Regions from separate parts of the Homo sapiens genome. Here regions 1, 2, 4, 5 and 6 are each linked to region 3. Evidence: promoter capture Hi-C in 16 types of primary human blood cells and fetal thymus (Javierre and others, 2016). All regions are on one chromosome and are shown on one strand. The core of a region is centred on a gene start or on the middle of the fragment in contact, and the rest is flanking DNA. Distances in the headings are between cores, read along the strand shown.

Region 1 (2,906 bases), core at 407-2,906, 720 kb before region 3:
AGTGAGCCCATGCTAGCTTCTAATGCACTCACCACTTCTTTTAATAAATACAATACTCTCCCCGCTTCCCCTAATGATTCTGTGAAGCAAACTAGTCTATAGTTCCTGGTATCTTCTTTTCTTGAAAAGTTGACATAGATGACAGTTGTGTCCTGAAGTCTGATAGCTTCTATGAATTTCTCAAACATTGGTTACCAACTGGTTTGGGGATCACCTTGACAAACTGTGTAATTTAGAGGTGAGGGCCTCCTTTATTGGAGTCAGGAGACCTCTTGGATTTGTGTCTTCACTCTGTTATGAGTTGAGTGGCCTCAGGCATCTTCTGAGTTTCTCATTCCTTTACTGAAAATAATAATGCTTATCTTAAAGTAGCTTGTTCAGAACTTGCCTTGTCTCAAGAATCAGCCAGACATTTATAAACAAATCTGAATCCTGAACGTCAACCCAGGCTTGTCTAAGAATTCTCCTCTTTATAATTTTTAGCTGCTCAGAGTAGAGAGCCTGTCACCAACCCTCACACTGTTATTACAGTTTCCTGTTTCTCCTTAACATTTATTCCACCACATTTTGCACATATGACTTTAGACCTTGAACTTTCAAGTCTTTCTAGACCAAAGGACAACAATGCTTTCCAGAGAGTCCAGCAGGAATCACACTGGGAAAGCTAAAAAAGCAACTCAGTCCTTTTCACCCAGTCTATTTCATCCAACCCCGCTGCCCCTCCTTGAATCCTGGAAGGATCATCTATTGCCTTTCAACTCAAAGTGTGGGACGTGTACTAGCAGCATGGGCATCACCAGGGAGCTTGTTGGACACGTGGAGTCTCAGACTCCACCTTAGACCCACTGACTCAATCTGAATCTTGACAAGGTTCCTGTATATCATGCATGTTACTCTTTGAGAAGCACCAGCCTGTTGAATACCTCTGGGCCAAAATACTATTCAGATGTGTTGTTCTTTTTCAATTACGGAAATAATTAGTGACTTAAAACTCACTTCTGATTCAGGACTGCATGGCTGTTTAAGTCGATATGTCTGCGTTAATGCTGTTGTAATGACATCACAGAATTGAGGCATTTATGAACTGGAGAGTAAATTCTATATGTGTTTAAAAATTAGATAAATAAGAATTTACATGACAGTTTAATAGGGGCTTTAAAAATTTAACACGGATAAGTCATCTGCTTTTTCAATGGATTTTCCTGAATAGTGGGATCACAAAAGAAATTTATGTGTTTTTCTAAGTTTCTTTTTCTTTTAATGTGGATTTACAAGTGATTAATTTAAAAATTTGCTCTCTGATTAGCAGGTAACATTTATAATCTGGACCTGTACCTAAGATAGCTTAGCAAATGAACACAAATGGCTTACTAGGTCTTTGCTTTTGAAAACGTATGGCCATCTAAAAGTAGTAAAGGCAATTTAATAAATACAGACAATCTGCTAAGCAGCCAAGGAAAAAAGGTGCCTGAATTATATATGTCTGCATGAGTGGACAAGACGTGCTTTTCAAGATTAATGATTTAAGCTGTTCTTTACGTTCCCAGACTGATTAAACAAGGCTTAATTCTAAACAACACTTTCTCCTTTTCTTGCTTCTTCAAAATTCACTGTCCTTCTCTATCCCTTCAGGATTGATTGCAGGGGTGATCCAGGATGGTGTCTGTCTAAAGCCTTAACTTCTCTCCCTTCATAAAAGGAAGATTATCCCTTTTTTAATTCCTTGTTTTCATTGATGTCAGATGAGAGGCATTCAGAAGGAGTGTTAGCATTCACTGCACTTTCCCTGAAAGTGGCTCAACTTTTGATTGAGATGTTCTTGAAGATTCTGTTAGTGGCATCTTGGCATGCTCCTGTCCTCTCTGACTTTGACGGCTCCTCCCCTCCTCCTTCTTTTCTCCCTCACACTCCTGTCCACACTTCCAGTCAAGTGCTTTCCAGAGCCTGTCATTCAGTTTCTTTTCTCTCTCCCAAATCCATCGTCTTTTCCCAATTTGTAGGATTTTTTCTTTTTCCCTCTTGTTCAGCATTTCATAAAGTTAGTCCTGCCAGGTTTTAATAGGGGTTCCACCCCCCTCACCGCTAAAAAAAATTGATCAGGACAAAGTATAAAATATTAATTTAGACAGTTAAATATCATTTTGTTTGTTGGTTTAGCCTCAGGACAAATTAGAACTTTTAATATGCTGCCAGGAGGGGTTGGGTGGTTTTCTCATTTCTGAATTTATTTCCCTGTAGAACCTTCTTTGAAAGTATCTAGGAAGACCAGTGTTTGATGAAATGTACTTTCCGACCTCCTCCTTGACATCTCTCCTACATGCTTCTCTCCATCTCATGCTATGTCTAATGACTCCGTGTACTGCTCCACGTGTCACATCCTCAAATACATCCTAAATTAAACACTACCAACATTAGCTAACTTCTACTGATCACTCCCCCCACTTCTTTTTTTTTTTTTTTTTGAGACTAGTCTCACTCTGTCTCCCAGGCTGGAGTACAATGGTGCCATCTTGGCCCACTACGACCTCTGCCTCCTGGGTTCAAGTGATTCTCCTGCCTCAGCCTCCCAAGTAGCTGAGATTACAGGCACCTGCCACCATGCCCAGCTAATTTTTGTATTTTTAGTAGAGACAGGGTTTCCCCATGTTGGCCAGGCTGGTCTCGAACTCCTGACCTCAGGTGATCCAACTGCCTCAGCCTCCCAAAGTGCTGGGATTACAGGCGTGAGCTGCTGTTCCTGGCCTGATCACTCACTTTTACTGCTAAGGCTTTTAAAAGTATTTTGCCTCTTTGATTGTCTATGAAATCAAGCACAGATATCTTAACCTGAGATGCAAGACCATGTGTGTTCTTGGACCAACCAACTTGCAATCAATCTTCCCCCTTCCCCAGCATTTAACATTCTT
Region 2 (3,030 bases), core at 61-2,560, 560 kb before region 3:
GTTGCAAGTCCCTTCCACTAAAAAATAAGCTATTGTCCTTATCAGAAGAATAGGATACTCTTTTGTTATCTATTTCTCATTCCATGATATAGGATTCTAGCTTTAAGTGTTGTCAATCTCAGACAAGAGTTGATTATCTAAAAAATATGGATTCTTGTAAGCCTTTTCATTATGTGCCATATAAAAAATGTTGCTCCAAGCAGGTTTACTAGTTTATCACCATTCAGATTTACAAGTTCTATCAGGAACTTCAAAGCAATTTCCTAGTAAATTTCCTAGTAAAAAGTCCAGTTTAACAAATGTTTAAATTTTTCTCACTTCTCTTTATATTTTAAATTTTTCTCACTTCTCTTTATATTTCACACCCTAACCCTCTCCCTCACTTTCCCATTCCCCACCACATTCACCTCAAATCTACACAGAAATCTTAAAGTGAGATGAATTAAGAAAAAAAAAGAAAATTGCCTTTTTTCTTTTATGAAAAAACATATTTTTATAATAATCTGAATCTGAAATTTTTGAAATAATTTAGGACTTATATTTAGAAAAAATCATTTAATCCCTCTGTCCTTCCTTCTTTCTCTCCTTCATTCTTTCATTTCTTCCACAAATATTTACTGAATATTTTCTGTTAAAGACATTGTGCTTGATACTGCCTTATGAGATATATTTCTCAGATTTTGTTCATGTCCTGAAGAAATTTTCAAAGACAAAATTAAGGGGGAATCTTTCTCTCCTTCCCTCCCTTCCTTTCTCCCTCCACTCTCCCTCTTCCCTCTTTCCTCCATCTTCTTTCTCCATCCACCCCATCCCACCCCACCCTTATCCATGAACTAGAAGCCAAGGAGGAACAAATGCTTTATGGGGGAAACACTCTGAGCAAGTTATATTGGAACTTGCAGAGATGAGGATGGTAGAATACAGCAAGGGGGCCAGGAGGAGCAGCATGAACAAGGTCACAGTAACTGGATAGCAAAGGGGCTTTAGAGAAGGCTGAGAAGTCCAGCTTGAAACATGGAGGACAGGAAAGGGAGAGATGGGAGAGGAGACTTCCCTTCTCACTTCACTTGTTACAGAGAGATGCATGTGAGGTGTGAGGATAAATGCCATTTAATGTAAGGTCATGTAGATTCACAGAAAAATAAGAGATTCCAGCTGATGTCATTATCATCGTAGTCATTTTCATCATTGTCGGGATGCCTCTGGCAGGACTTCCTCCCTAATGACACCAGGACCACCAGAATTTACACTTATGCTCTGCTTCTGTGTCCTGAACACCTTGGAGGTACGAATGGATTCTAAGAGACAAACTCATCTCGTTTAGAGTGAAAAGATGACAAGCAGAGGTTCGCAGAAGCCACATACAACCAATGAAGCCTATAAGGTAGCTGAGAATTAAACAAAAGCACCTGTTCCGATTACCTTCATTGTTCCTGGTTAGTTAGCACCTCCCTTTCCTCAACAGAATGCCCGGCGCACAGGGGTGGGATCTGAGTGAGGGCAACAGGTGGATTGGAGAACATTTCTTCCCATAAGTAGTAGGATTTGATGGAAAAACAAGTAACTTCAGGGTAATAAAATGATGGAAAGTCCTGATGGGTCAGGTCCATATCTAATCTTAAGAAGGGCAGCCTTAGGCAGCATAGTGGGTGCTAGAATCATTGGTACCATCAAGAAAAGAGTAGTAATGTGAATTTCAAAGAAGATCACTTTGGGATAATGAACAGCATGACAGAATCCGGGAGCCTAATGAAGAAGATGTGATATAGTAAAAGAAATATATTGAGTGTAGGCTTTGAATAGGGCAGAAGGAGTGGAACTAGAGAGGCAAGAGGAGATGTGATTATGGAAGGTCTTGTATATCATACCAAGGGTCTGCACTTACACTGTAGAGTCCAGAGGGATCTAAATGTAGGATAGACAGGATCAGGTTTGATTTTGGAAAGCTCAGTCTGGAGGTGGTGTGGCCAATGTTTGGGAAGTGGTAAAGACTCTTTCGGGAAAGACAATATCAAGAGCAAACATGGACTACTTCATCAGGTATCACCAGCAGATATTAAATTATCAGTACAAAACCCAGCAATTATTACTTTCAGATCGGCCTTTTTTCTCTTACTAGGAGAATATAGTCCAGATAGAGTGTACGTGCATGAATAATCATCATAGTCTTAACAGAGGATGAAGTTTAATGAGTGTTATCAGTTAGAGAATTATTTATATAATCTCAGTTTTCCAGACAAAGAAATAGAGGCATAGTGAGATGAAGTGACTGCCCAAAGTCATAGATGGAGAAAATGGTAAAGATGACTTGAACTCTGATATTCTGCCTCTAGAGCCTGTGTTCTAGTGTGTGAATTAACTAAGTTGTTAATTGTTATTCATACTAATGGGAACATTCTCATATAACTGGTTCAGAAATTTTAAAAACTGGTACCAGCCTTAGGTAGATTTTGTAATGCAGTTTGTCAGTAACCAAAATACCTAATTCATATGGAAAATTAAGAGGCTGGTGTGAAGCATGATAATTACATTTACTTTGAAATCAGCAATTTGTGGATAAATTTAATTCATTTTGCCCAACTCTGGCTTTATTCCCGGTATTAAAAAGACAACTACAGGGTGCACTTGGTTAGCACTCAGGGAAAATAAAGCAATTATTCTTCCACTTCTGCTAGAGAACACTAGGTACCCTTTGACAGTCAATTGTATAGACTCTTATTGTAGGCAGTTTGTAGGAACCAACCTGATGGAATGGGTATGTCTTCCTCTTTCAGCTCCACAATCCAATGACCCTTTTGTTCAACAAAAACACAACTAAACAACAAAATGTTGGTAGTTAAAAAAAAGTTTAAAAGTAATAGGACGCCTTCAACATGGTAATCTACTTTAAGAATTTAGAGCACATGTCAGTATGTCACCTTCAGACATGGTTATAGTCCAGTAAGAATTACAAATCCAACAAACAAAAATCAAGGCAATAGAGTTTTCATGGGTACCACTGTAATAAATTCTTCTGTGCAAAAAGCCAGT
Region 3 (3,048 bases), core at 391-2,890:
AATCATAGATATGATGCCTCTGTTTGGCATGGCAAAATATATTAGAACTGTTTCATCAGTCACTGGGCAACTTGCTAGATGGAGGGGGAATAATCCTGAAAAATGCAGGAGCTGCTTCTAATAGCATCTAAAAGGATCCCTGGAGAAACACAGATAATCTGCTTGCAGTGATTCATCAAGTTGGTCCTTTGTTTCATTAATTTGAGTGTCAAGTGCAACCATACAATAAAGAATTGCCAAGACCTGGTAAGATTCTCCTCTGGCTGCTGCTTTTCCTGCCCTAACAACTGGTACTATTCATGCCTAAAGCACAAACTGAATAAATAGTTTCAAGGCTGGCAATGTTGGACAGTGCTTCCTATTTTGCTTTTCCTTGAAAGGCTAAATCGTGTGCTTTCTTGCCCTCTCCCAAACACGTTGCACTGATATTCATTATTGCACCAATAATTTTAACTTTCTTAATACTAAGTATGGAAGGATGCCTCATAAGATAAAAATAGTTCCTGTTGTATCATCAGTCCAGCAATAGATTAGGGAAGATTAAAAATGGATTGTAATGCCTTCTTTGGCCTTGAGAAAGCTCTTATTGTGCCCATGGTTCAGTAGGCCTGCTGATCATTTCCATCTTAATGTAATCTTTAACATTACACTGCTACAGGTGAGATGTTAAGTAATACATTAAGACAACTATTTTCACTGAGCAATTTCACAAGAAATATGTTTTTAGCTAAATTAGACATTTAACAAATGCCATTTGTAATTCAATGCAGAGGAGACAGCATCCTTAAAACAAGCTATTGATGTGACTTTCCCAACATAAAACAATACTTATGTTTTTTTAATTTTAATTGAAGTCCTGAATGTGAAACTATCGCCGTCAGTGCAGTAGACCAACGGAAAGCACCAAATACCTTAGGATTATGAAATAAGCCATATGCAGTTTTATCTCTAGCAGACAGAAATTCTTCATCCAAATTAGGAAGAATCTACAGGTCAAGTTAATCATGTAGCTGTGACGTGCTGAATGTTTTTAAAACTTTAAGATCATTTAGATGAACACTAGGAAACTCAGAGGTCAGGCAGAAATGTAAATTGTAATATTCAATGAAAATAATAAATGAAATAATTGAGATGAAATATTATCTAAAGAATGCATGAGAATAACTGAATCTGATAAAGTAAAATTAAAATTAAGAGAGAAGAGAAAATAAGAAAGTGAGCAATTGAAAAACGGAATAATAAATAATTTTTTAAGAAAAATAATTTCATCATGTATTTCTCTATGCTACGTACATAAACGCAAACGCTATAAATAGAGTTATTGACATTTGGGAGGTTGATTTGTTTTTATCAACATCGCAAAACAGAAAATTTAGGTTGCAGATTTTCACATGGCTATCACGTTCAGAATCCAATCAGGTTCTCCTTCTTTACTACTTGATGACTTCTTTAAAGATAAATAAGCCCGCGGACCAAGAAGTGGGTACACTGGCTCGGTTAACTCTCTCTCCCCAGAAATTTCACTACTGAAAAGATTATTATTTGGGGGCGGGGAAGGGGATGTAGAGGTCTTTAGGACCCAGCAGGCGGCGGCAGGCGGCAGTTGTGTAGATCGCTGAGAGACTACGAGGGTCCGGTTCAGTTTTAATTCTGTCTCTAATCTCTGCAACAGCCGCGCTTCCCGGGTCCCGCGGCTCCCGCGCGCGATCTGCCGCGGCCGGCTGCTGGGCAAAAATCAGAGCCGCCTCCGCCCCATTACCCATCATGGAAACCCTCCAGGAAAAAGTGGCCCCGGACGCGCGAGCCTGAGGATTCTGCACAAAAGAGGTGCCCAAAATGAAGACCCTGATGGTGAGTCAGTTGTGGCAACTCCACCGGGCAAAGAGGGGGATCCCCGGGCTCAGGGTCCACGGGACGCACCGTGGAGACTCCGAGACGCCTAACCCTGGGCCGCGAGGTCGCCTGTTACAAAGGGACAACTTTCTACCCGCTCCGCGTTCCCTCCCGATTCTCCAGCTCTGCCTGGCTCGGAATCCCAGAGCCAGGATGGGAACTCGGGGTTGCCTCGCCTCCTAGATCTCCGGCGAGAGGTCCGAGGGGGTGGCGGAGAGCTGCAGGAGCGATGGAGGAGTGGGCAGATTGCTCAAGGGATGGGGGTGCCCAAAAGCAACAGCCTGCCAAAAACTAAGAGGGACGGGGAGGGGGGACCTTTGCAGACTTTCTTCGTTTTCTTAGATTTCAAACTTGCAAGGATCGCAAGGATCCAGGGCCCCAGGAAAGGAGGGGTGTGAAGGACTCAAAATTCCAGCAGCTTGGCTGGGGTGGCTGCGCCAGACGGGCCCTTCCCCAAAGTGCAAACCCACCCCTGTCCTCGGCCCCGGCGCGCTCCCTCCCTCAGCCCGGGGCCGTACACCACCTGCCCTCTACCGAGAGATCTGGGCGGCGGCGGCCGAAAGCAGCGACGCGCCCGGAGCATCCCTTGCGATACGCTAGGGGACGGTGCTTTCTCTGTCCCAGTTGCGTGCGGCGGGGCTGGGGCCCAGGCCGCCCCAAATCTCCCCCACTAGAGTGACCACCGCACAGTTGTCCCCGCTGGGCGCGCTCCTCCGGTGTCTGCGCTCAGCCGCTCTCCTCTTCTCTCTCCCGCCCGCCCGCAGCGCCATGGTCTGGCAGTGTGTTTAGCGCTCACCACCATGTGCACCAGCTTGTTGCTAGTGTACAGCAGCCTCGGCGGCCAGAAGGAGCGGCCCCCGCAGCAGCAGCAGCAGCAGCAGCAACAGCAGCAGCAGGCGTCGGCCACCGGCAGCTCGCAGCCGGCGGCGGAGAGCAGCACCCAGCAGCGCCCCGGGGTCCCCGCGGGACCGCGGCCACTGGACGGATACCTCGGAGTGGCGGACCACAAGGTGACAGCATGCCCGCCAGCCCGCTCGCCACTCAGCCTGGGGATCCCGCACACCTGAGCCTTCCCCCTTTCCCGGGGCTGGGAGGCGCTGTGAGTAGGTGCCGTTCGAAGGCTGGAGGGGAGTGGACCCGCTGGGGTAGGGTGGG
Region 4 (3,097 bases), core at 353-2,852, 780 kb before region 3:
CTTAAGGAGGATGCTAGGTGGTCCTTCCCTCAGAGTCACTATATAGCAGCTGTCTGTGAGTCCTGCCTTGGAAAGACAATATTATTCTTTCAGCAGCTATTATTTATTGAGCACCTACAATGTGGCAGATGAACTAATCATCTTACCTTATGTGAGTAAACTTTATAGCATCTCTTTGAGGTAGATGTGTCCCCATTTTATAAATGGAGACACTGGCTCAGAGAAGGTAAGAGTAAGTTAGAGTGCACTTACATACACCTGGGTGTGCACTGAGAGTGTATTTATATACACCTAGAAGTTAAGAATAACTTATCTGAGCCACGGTTTCTCCATTGTAAGTGCTAGTGGGGCCAGGGAATAAAATTCAGATCTGTCTGACCCAAAATACCTTGCTTTTAACCATCTGGTCTTCTACCTCTGTAGAGGAGAGAATCATTTAGGAAGGAGCCTATGGAAATAATTTTGATCTGAATTAAACTGATTATCTTTTAAAAGTTAAGGAGTTCTTAGAACTTTTCTTTGATGTTAAGAACTTTTAAACTAGATTATACTTAAGAAGACAATTTATTTCACTTGCTTAGTTCAGGTCAGACCTGGTGGAATTAGTCTCACTGATAAGCAGATACTTGAACAGAATCTTGATGAATAAGCATGAGCATTAACTTCAGACTAACTGGCCGGATGGCTGTGCCTCCTGGTCTACCCACCTACTGCTCTCCCTGCCACAAGTTCCTCTTCTTCATTTGTCACTCTTTTATCTGTTCTTGGCACAGCAACCAGAAGGAATTTTAAAAGATGCACGTAAGATGATCTCATTCCCTTTCTTATCTGGTCAGTGGCTTCCTTTTTCATTTGGAATATATTACGATCTTTGAATCATGACTCCACAGGCCTACAGGATCCCTTTCCAGTCTCCTCCAAGGCACTCAGCCTCTTATTATTTTCTAGCTACTCTAGGGTCTTTTCAGGCCCTGAATCTGAAACATGACATTTGTGGAAAATGATGGGAAGTACTTTATGGCTAAAGCTTAGTCTGGACTTTGGGGGCTGGTGGGACATTAGGTAGACTAAGGGTTTGGACTTGACCTTGTAGGTAATGGAACACTTTTGAGACATTTTTAGCACAAAACTAAACGTAATGGAGCCACTGAGCTGAGGAGTAGAATATTCTTCTATTGTCTTTTTAGAGTGCTCAGAGTCCCTGCATTGCCACTGGTCATTGCCCTTTGTACTTGGAAATGACTTGTTCCAATTATGACAGCCTTGCAATTGCGCAGGCCGAATGTTTATCAGAAAACTGTAAGTTAAAACATGGCAATGACATCTCTCTCCTTGTGTGTCATATTTAAGGCACATGTTCTCTGAAATCAAGAAGCTGGGCTAGGATCTTGCACTGGCCCCAGACCATATTCTGTTGTGACCATGCTTCAGTGAGAATGTGTCACGTGTAAAATGAAGATAAGCAAGAATATCAGTCTGTTTGAAAGTGCTAATAAAAGTAAAATATTCTTGGCAAATAAAGCTATTAATGTAGGTGTTGAAATTTTCATTTAGTCAGAGCAGTCCTAAATTTAAATGTAACCTTTTGAGCCCTTAGATCATTGAGTTAAGACTCTTTCTCATGCGGATGAACAGTAAATGCTTGTTATCTGAAGATGTAAATTGGGAGGAGTAAGGGACTTCTGCCCCATTGTGCATTAATGCCTACTGTTTGTTTCCCTGACTTAGAATGTGGCTCCATATTTTTGCCCTCAAGGCAGCTATTGATGGAGTCATCCTATGCTCCAAACCTTGAGCTAAGCACCACATATAGTCATGTGCCACATGACGACGTTTCAGTCCAGTCAATGGCAGACTGCCTATATGACAGTGGTCCCATAAGATGATAATATCACATTTTTACTGTATCTTTTCTGTGTTTAGATATGTTTAGATACACAGATACTTACCATTGTGTTACAGTTATTATACCTATAGTATATAGCACAGTAATGTGCTGTATGGGTTTGTAGCCTAAGAGCAATTGGCTATACCATGTAGCCTAGGTATGTAGTAGGCTACACCATCTAGGTGTATGTAAGTGCACTCTATGATGCTCACACAACTACACTTACGGATGTGGTTCTCAGAACATATCCCTATCATTGAGCCATTCATGACTGTATGTATATGTCAGTTAAAGCTTATAACAACACTGTGAATCTGTTTTTTCATCCTGCTGTGAGTTTGGATTGTTTATGAGGAAATGCGGGCTTAGAGAATTTAATTGCTTAAAGTCAGAGAGTTAGGAGATCCTTCAGTTTTGACTGATGTCAACCTCCGTGCTCTTAACCCCAGCTCTGTCCAAGTCATAAGACCATCCTATAGACAGGCCAGAATGGTACAAGTGGAAACACAGGAAGAGATCTTCTTTCCTATAGACCTTAAATAAAAATGTCTCTTGGATCATCTTGTCTGAAAGCCCATCTTTTTGGGTTTATTTCTCTGATTAGAGAGATACTTTGTTTTGCCTAATACGTATTTTTAGAAAGTAGTACAGGCATCAGTCTTTTGTAAACTCTTTGAGATTTAAATAAGGAAGTTTGCTGTTTGAAGGACTTTGTGGCTAATCCCTTGGTAAAGAAGTATCTTATAATTGACTATGAATGCCTTAGTAGCTATTCTGTTTCATAACTTGACTTTCAAAAAATAATAATGGCAAAAGATGACATTTTTTGATAAGCACCAGGTGCTTTTAGAAGCAATTTTTATGGGAGTTTCTAATCTAATCATCACAGCAACCCTTCAAAATGGGTGCTATTATTGTGTCCATTTGACAGAGAAGTAAACTGAGGTGACAGTGGCTAGATGCAGGGATGGCTTCGTGGCATGTGACCTGCATGATCACACAGGACCCCATGCTTAGAAGGGCCCCATGCTTGGTGTAATATTCTGCAATTATTGTCGTAGAAGACTTCATAATTTTGAACAAGGGCCCTGCATTTTTATTTTGCATGGGGCCTCATAAATTATGTGGTTGGTCCTGCCTAGCCAAATTGTCCAAGGCCATTCCATGGTGAGCAGCAGAGTTGAGGTTCAAACCCAGACTGCCTGGCGT
Region 5 (2,911 bases), core at 235-2,734, 700 kb before region 3:
TTAAGCCTAGTATTATATAGGTAAACTTGTGTCATGGGGTTTGTTGTACAGATTGTTTTGTTGACCAGGTATTAAGCCTAGTACCTGTTAGTTATTGTTCCTGATCCTCTCCCTCCTCTCACCTTCCTTCCTCTGATAGGCCCCAGTGTATGTTGTTCCCTTCTGTGTGTCTGTGTGTTCTCATCATTTAGCTCCTATTTGTAAGTGAGAGCTTGCAGTATTTGGTTTTCTATTACTGCCTTAGTTTGCTAAGGATAATGGCCTTCAGCTTCATTCATGTCCCTGTAAAAGATATGATCTTGTTCCTTTTAATGGTTGCATAGTATTCCGTGGTATATATGTACCATGTTTTCTTTATCCAGTCTATCATTGATGAGCATTTAGGTTGATTCAATGTCTTTACAAGTGTGAACAGTGCTGTAATTAACATACATGTGCATGTGTCTTTTATAATAGAATGATTTGTATTTATTTGGATATATACCCAGTAATGAGATTACTAGGTCAAATGGTATTTCTGTTTTTAGGTCTTTGAGGAGTCACCAGTGTCTTCCACAGTGGTTGAACTAATTTACACTCCCACCAACAGTGTATAACCATTCCTTTTTCTCCACAACTTCACCAGCATCTGTTATTTTTGACTTTTTAATAATAGACATTCTGACTGGCGTGAGATGGCATCTCATTGTGGTTTTGATTTGCATTTCTCAAATAATCAGTGATGCTGAGTTTTTTTTCATATGATTATTGGCTGCATGTACATCTTCTTTTGAAAAGTGTCTGTTCATGTCCTTTGTCCACTTTCTAATGGGTTTTTTTTCTTGTACATTTGTTTGTATTTCTTATAAATGCTAGATATTAGACCTTTGTCAGATGCATAGTTTGCACAAATTTCCTCCCATTCTGTAGGTTGTCTGTTCACTTTGTTGAGAGTTTCTTTTGCTGTGCAGAAGATCTTTAGTTTAATTAGATCCTGTTTGTAAACTTTTGCTTTTCTTGTAATTGCTTTTGGTGTCTTCGTCATGAAATCTTTCCCTGTTTCTATGGCCAGAATGGTGTTGCCTAAGTTGGAGTTTTTCTAGTTTTGGGTTTTACATTTAAGTCCTTAATTCATCTTGAGTTAATTTTTGTATATGGCGGAAGGAAGGGGTCCAGTTTAAGTATTCTGCTTGTGGCTAGCCAATTATCCCAGAACAACTTACTGAATAGGGAATCCTTTCCCCATTGCTTGTTTTTGTCATGTTGAATATCAGATAGTTGTAGGTGTATGGCCTTATTTCTGGGTTCTCCAGTCTTTTTGATTGGTCTGTTTTCTCTTTTTGTACCAGTACTATGCTGTTTGGTTACTGTAGCTGTGTAGTACAGTTTGAAGTCCAGTAGCATGATGTGTCCAGCTTTGTTCATTTTGCTTAAGATTGCCTTGACTATTTGGGCTCATTTTTTGCTTCCATATGAATTTTAAAATTGTTTTCTCTAGTTCTGTGAAGAATGTCAATGCTAGTTTAACAGGAATAGCATTGAATCTATAAAATACTTTGGGCAGCATGGCCATTTTAACAATATCGATTCTTCCTATCCATGAGCATGGAATGTTTTTCCATTTATTTGTGTTATCTCTGGTTTCTTTGAGCAGTGTTTTGTAGTTCTCCTTGTAGAGATCTTTCACCTCCCTGGTTGGCTGAGTATTCTTAAGTATTTTATTATTTTTATGGCAATTGTGAGTAGGATTGCGTTGCCTATTCGGCTCTTGGCTTCACTGTTGTTGATGTACAGGAATGTTAGTGATTTTTGTGCATTTATTTTGTAACCTGAGACTTTGCTGAAGTTGTTTATCAGCTTAAGGAGCTTTTGGGCTGAGACTATTGGGTTTTATAGATATAGGATCATCTTGTCTACAAACAGGGATAGTTTGACTTCCTCTCTTCCGATTTTGATGCCCTTTTCTTCTTTCTCTTGCCTGATTGATCTGGCCAGGACCCAATACTGTTGAATAAGAGTGGTGAGAGAGGGCATCCTTGTCTTGTGCTGGTTTTCAAGGGAAATGCTTCCAGCTTTTACCCATTCATTATGGTGTTGGCTGTGGGTTTGTCATAGATGGTTCTTATTATTTTGAGGTATATTCATTTAATACCTAGTTTATCGAGAGTTTTTAACATGAAGGGATGTTGAATTTTATGGAGAGCCTTTTCTGCATCTATTGAAATAATCATGTTTTTTGTCTTTAGTTCTGTTTATATGATGGCTCACATTAATTGATTTGCATGTGTTGAACCAACCTTGCATCCCAGGGATAACAAGCCTATTTGATTGTGGTAGATAAATTTTTTGATGTGCTGCTGGATTTGGTTTGTCAGTATTTTGTAGTTGATATTCATCCAGGCTATTGGCCTGAAGATTCCTTTTGTTGTTGTTGTGTGTCTGCCAGGTTTTGGTATCAGCATGATGCTGGCCTCATAGAATGAGTAAGGGAGGAGTCACTCTACCTCAACTTTTGGGAATTGGTTCAGAAGGAATGGTACCAGCTCATCTATGTACATCTGGTGGAATTCAGCTGTGAATCCATCTGGCCCTGGGCTTTTATTGGTTGGTAGGCTATTTGTTGATTCAATTTCGGAGCTCATTATTGTCTGTTCAGGGATTCAGTTTCTTCCTGGTTCAGTCTTGGGAGGGTGTATATGTCCAGAAATGTATCAATTTCTTCTAGATTTTCTAGTTTATGTGCATAGAGGTGATCATAATATTCTCTGATGGTTGGTTGTATTTCTGTGGGGTCAGTGGTAATATTCCCCTTGCCATTTCTGATTGTGTTTATTGGAATCTTCTCTCTTTTCTTCTTTATTAGTTTAGCTAGTGGTATGTCTGTTTTATTAATTTTTATCAAAAAACAGCTCCTGGATTCATTGGTCTTTTG
Region 6 (3,209 bases), core at 455-2,954, 510 kb before region 3:
TGTCAAGTTTGGCATTAGGCTTATGCTGGTTTTATAAAATGAATAACTTTCTATCTTTTTGTTCAGCCTGGGAACAAATTATGTAGCATAGTCATTTTTTGAAGATTTCAAAGAACGTTTTTCAAAGAAATGTGTGGGCCTAAATATCCTTTTGGAAATATTTCATTTATAACATTTTCAAACATTTTCATAATTATCTATATTGTTTTAAACTCCTTCCTGAGTCAGTTTTAAACACTTGCACATTCCCAGAAAATTCTCTTTTTATCTAAATTTTCAATTTTTTTAGTATAAAGACTATATGGAGATCTGTGATATACTTTAAAACTACTATAACTTTTTTTTATAACTTCTAACTTGTTTTGTGCTTTCTTTTTTTGTCTTTGTTAGAGTCTCCATGTTTGCCCATTTTGTTCGTTTTTCTGACAGCCTAGCTGTTGAATTTATTTGTCCACTTTAGAATTAAAATATTGCCAAATTTATTCTTATAATTAAAATTTTTTCAGAGTTTATGAGAAGTAGGATAATCATATATCCCAGTTGCCTGGCATATTCTGGTATATGCCTTCTATCCCAACGTAATTATTAGTAGTACTCTCTTTCCTCCCCAAAATACATCAGTTGGGTAATAAATTATGTGGCCACTCTAATGATAAGTGAAACATACATTTTCCTCTCAATACAATAGCAGGCTATAATTACAATGCATAATTATAATTACAGATATTGTCTCATCCCCTGGGATGTGAAAATTCATGTTGAGGAGGTTGGGGTGGGGGAAGGTCAAAAGGCTTTTGATATTATAAATGTTTGTGGCCATCCGAAGGGCCATAGTACCTAAGTAGATAACGAGTTTAACTGCAGTATCAAATTTCATGTGGGAGGGGGTATAAGTAGGATAAAATTGTCTTAACCAGGCTCCTTAGAGGGACAATAATGAAAAAAGAAAAGGTTGAGAAAAATGTTATAATGCTGTTTGAATACCACCATTGATTAGTTCATTTTATTTTTCTCCTTAATAGTCATTTGGTGTTTTCTAATTTGTAAGTAAATATAGTTTCTGTTTAAACAATAAGTTATTGTTTCAACACTGAAATACCCTTGTTGACATCATCAGTGGTCAACATTGTCAACACATTGTTCTGTGTTTTTGGCTGACTCTGCTTTTCAATACCGTCTGTCCAACTTGACTATTTCCTCCTTTTTTTTTTTTATTGAGAATATTATTGGGCTCATAGGATTAAATGAAATAAGATAGTAAGGCATTCAGAACTGTGCCTGTCCCTCCTGCTTTCCCTCTGTCTCACTGGTTATTTTCAAACTTTTTGGTTTCCTTTTTTTTTTTTTTTTTTTTTTACCTCCGGCCAATCTCTAATTGCTGGAGTGCTAAAGAGCTTGAGCTCTTTTTCTTCTCTATCTGCATTTTATTCCTGAATGACCTAATCTAATTACATTGCTTTAACTCCTTCTGTATAACTTTATACCTCCAGCCCTGACTCGTACCATGAGCCTCTGACTTGTATATTCCATTACCTGCTTGATATTTCCATGTGGATGTATAATAATTATCAGAATTAGGTACAGGCTCAAAACTGAATTTTTTTCTTCACATCTGTTCTACATTCCTCCTCGTTCCTATAAATGGTATTGCCATTCACTCAGTTTCTTAAGTCAAAAACCTAAGATGCATTCTAGACATTTCTCTGTCTGCCTTCCTCCACATTCCATCTGCCATCATGCCAGCTGGTTATATCACCAAACCTGTCCACTTCTCTTGATTTTCCTTGTTACTCTAATCCAAGACACCATCTGCTGTCACCTACATTCTCCACTGGTCTCCTGCTTCCACTCTCATCTTCCAGCCCTCACCCTCATCATCCATTCTCCAAAGAGATCTCTTAAATATACAACTAGAATTACTCCACTCCCCTTCTTAAATTCTTTATTGGGCTTTCACTGCAGTCAGAATAAACACTGAACTCTGTATCATGGCCAATAAAGAACCATGCTCCCATCTCCTCTCCAGCCACCCTGGCCTTCTATTCCCTTAACATGCCTAACCAGTTTCTGTCATGGGCTTGCTTGCTGTTTCCTCTCCCTGTACGTTCTTCGGGCCCACGCGTTTCTGTGGCTGGCCATTCTTGTCTGAGCAGTCTCAGCTCAGTTGCCACCCCTTCAGAGAGGCTTCCAACCTGGCACCATAACTAATGTCAGCTCCTTTCTACCAATGATTATTGAGTTGCCCTGCCCAACTTTTTTTTTTGTCAAATCATTGTTCGTTTGTTTTGAACTGGAGTGTTTATTGCAGAAATTTGGCCAAGGTTCCAATTGAGTGACTCCAGCTGAGGTTAGACTGGGGCCCCTTGCCCAGGGCTGGGCACCTGAGACAGGAAACAGTGAAGGGATCTGGGCCTCAGAGCTGTGAGATAGAACTGGGGACCAGGCTGCAGGTGAGGCCTGTATGGTCAGGTTCATGCAAGGCCTTCACCACACCATCCTCTATCACCAGGAAGAACCTCTCAAGCTCTCATCCTCAAAGAGTGGCAACAGCAAATCATCTAGTAACAAATCAGTCTCCTTCCCAGAGGCCCCAGGGCTGCCACCCATGAGCTGGCCTTGGCCTTCTGCACTGTGGCCTGTCCCCACTCACCAGTCACAAAGACACAAAGACAGTGGCACTTAAACATGGATCTGGCCCCCCTTTACCTTCAGAACCCCAGCCTACTCCCCAAACCCAAGCAGGTGGGTCTTTGACAGTTGGGGTGAAAGCCCCAGGGATTCTAAACAGCACACCCTTCTTTCCCTGGCATAGTTCTGTCAGGTCCACCTTGTTCCCAGGCTCCCTTTCAAACACCACTAATGCCAGGATAGCATCTCCCACCATGACAGGTGCCATGGCTGCAAAGTTACTGCTGAAATCGTGGGTCCCCAAGCATCCACTCTCCTTCTCTTTCTAGTAGTCACGCTGCTCCTGCTGCTGCTGTTGCTACCACTGCTCCTGCTGCTATGATTCTATCATAGCAGCCCCAGTGAGGACCAACCCAGTTCAATGTTTCAGGGCGCACAGTTGTGCCAGCTCCAGGCTGGGCCCTGTGGCTGCGACAGTCCTGTCTCTGTGGTTAGGCACCACCTATCCTATTCAGCCTTCTTAGGGTTATCTTAGTATTTGGTATAGCTCCTTCTTTTCTGTTGTCCTCCCAGCGCTATCA

What was found. Contacts are between HindIII fragments. The CHiCAGO score rates a contact against its expected background, and 5 or more counts as called.
Region 1: a contact is called between a fragment that was not itself captured here and the fragment with the promoter of ST6GALNAC5 in region 3, in 2 of 17 cell types (activated CD4 T cells and naive CD4 T cells). The highest score is 5.6, in activated CD4 T cells.
Region 2: a fragment that was not itself captured here is called in contact with the fragment with the promoter of ST6GALNAC5 in region 3 in 1 of 17 cell types (megakaryocytes); the score reaches 5.0 in megakaryocytes.
Region 4: a fragment that was not itself captured here is called in contact with the fragment with the promoter of ST6GALNAC5 in region 3 in 1 of 17 cell types (fetal thymus); the score reaches 5.5 in fetal thymus.
Region 5: a fragment that was not itself captured here is called in contact with the fragment with the promoter of ST6GALNAC5 in region 3 in 1 of 17 cell types (erythroblasts); the score reaches 6.1 in erythroblasts.
Region 6: a fragment that was not itself captured here is called in contact with the fragment with the promoter of ST6GALNAC5 in region 3 in 1 of 17 cell types (megakaryocytes); the score reaches 5.6 in megakaryocytes.

The regions. Positions count from the first base shown.
Region 1 is chr1:76,144,620-76,147,525 of GRCh38, forward strand. All of the region lies in intron 1 of ST6GALNAC3 (ST6 N-acetylgalactosaminide alpha-2,6-sialyltransferase 3), which reads left to right. Among named protein-coding and RNA genes, the nearest start is that of ST6GALNAC3, 71 kb to the left of the region's middle. The HindIII fragment of the contact is 5,591 bases long and covers 1-2,906 here.
Region 2 is chr1:76,303,583-76,306,612 of GRCh38, forward strand. All of the region lies in intron 1 of ST6GALNAC3 (ST6 N-acetylgalactosaminide alpha-2,6-sialyltransferase 3), which reads left to right. Among named protein-coding and RNA genes, the nearest start is that of ST6GALNAC3, 230 kb to the left of the region's middle. RefSeq lists an enhancer at 1-201. The HindIII fragment of the contact is 4,943 bases long and covers 1-3,030 here.
Region 3 is chr1:76,865,840-76,868,887 of GRCh38, forward strand. ST6GALNAC5 (ST6 N-acetylgalactosaminide alpha-2,6-sialyltransferase 5) reads left to right here and starts at 1,641. Exons shown (of 5, transcript NM_030965.3): 1 at 1,641-1,851; 2 at 2,658-2,903. The coding sequence starts at 1,837. RefSeq lists an enhancer at 2,516-2,725. The HindIII fragment of the contact is 4,193 bases long and covers 1-3,048 here.
Region 4 is chr1:76,089,741-76,092,837 of GRCh38, forward strand. All of the region lies in intron 1 of ST6GALNAC3 (ST6 N-acetylgalactosaminide alpha-2,6-sialyltransferase 3), which reads left to right. Among named protein-coding and RNA genes, the nearest start is that of ST6GALNAC3, 17 kb to the left of the region's middle. The HindIII fragment of the contact is 1,155 bases long and covers 1,026-2,180 here.
Region 5 is chr1:76,165,050-76,167,960 of GRCh38, forward strand. All of the region lies in intron 1 of ST6GALNAC3 (ST6 N-acetylgalactosaminide alpha-2,6-sialyltransferase 3), which reads left to right. Among named protein-coding and RNA genes, the nearest start is that of ST6GALNAC3, 92 kb to the left of the region's middle. The HindIII fragment of the contact is 5,345 bases long and covers 1-2,911 here.
Region 6 is chr1:76,351,164-76,354,372 of GRCh38, forward strand. All of the region lies in intron 2 of ST6GALNAC3 (ST6 N-acetylgalactosaminide alpha-2,6-sialyltransferase 3), which reads left to right. It also overlaps the pseudogene LOC100418965. Among named protein-coding and RNA genes, the nearest start is that of ST6GALNAC3, 280 kb to the left of the region's middle. The HindIII fragment of the contact is 4,072 bases long and covers 1-3,209 here.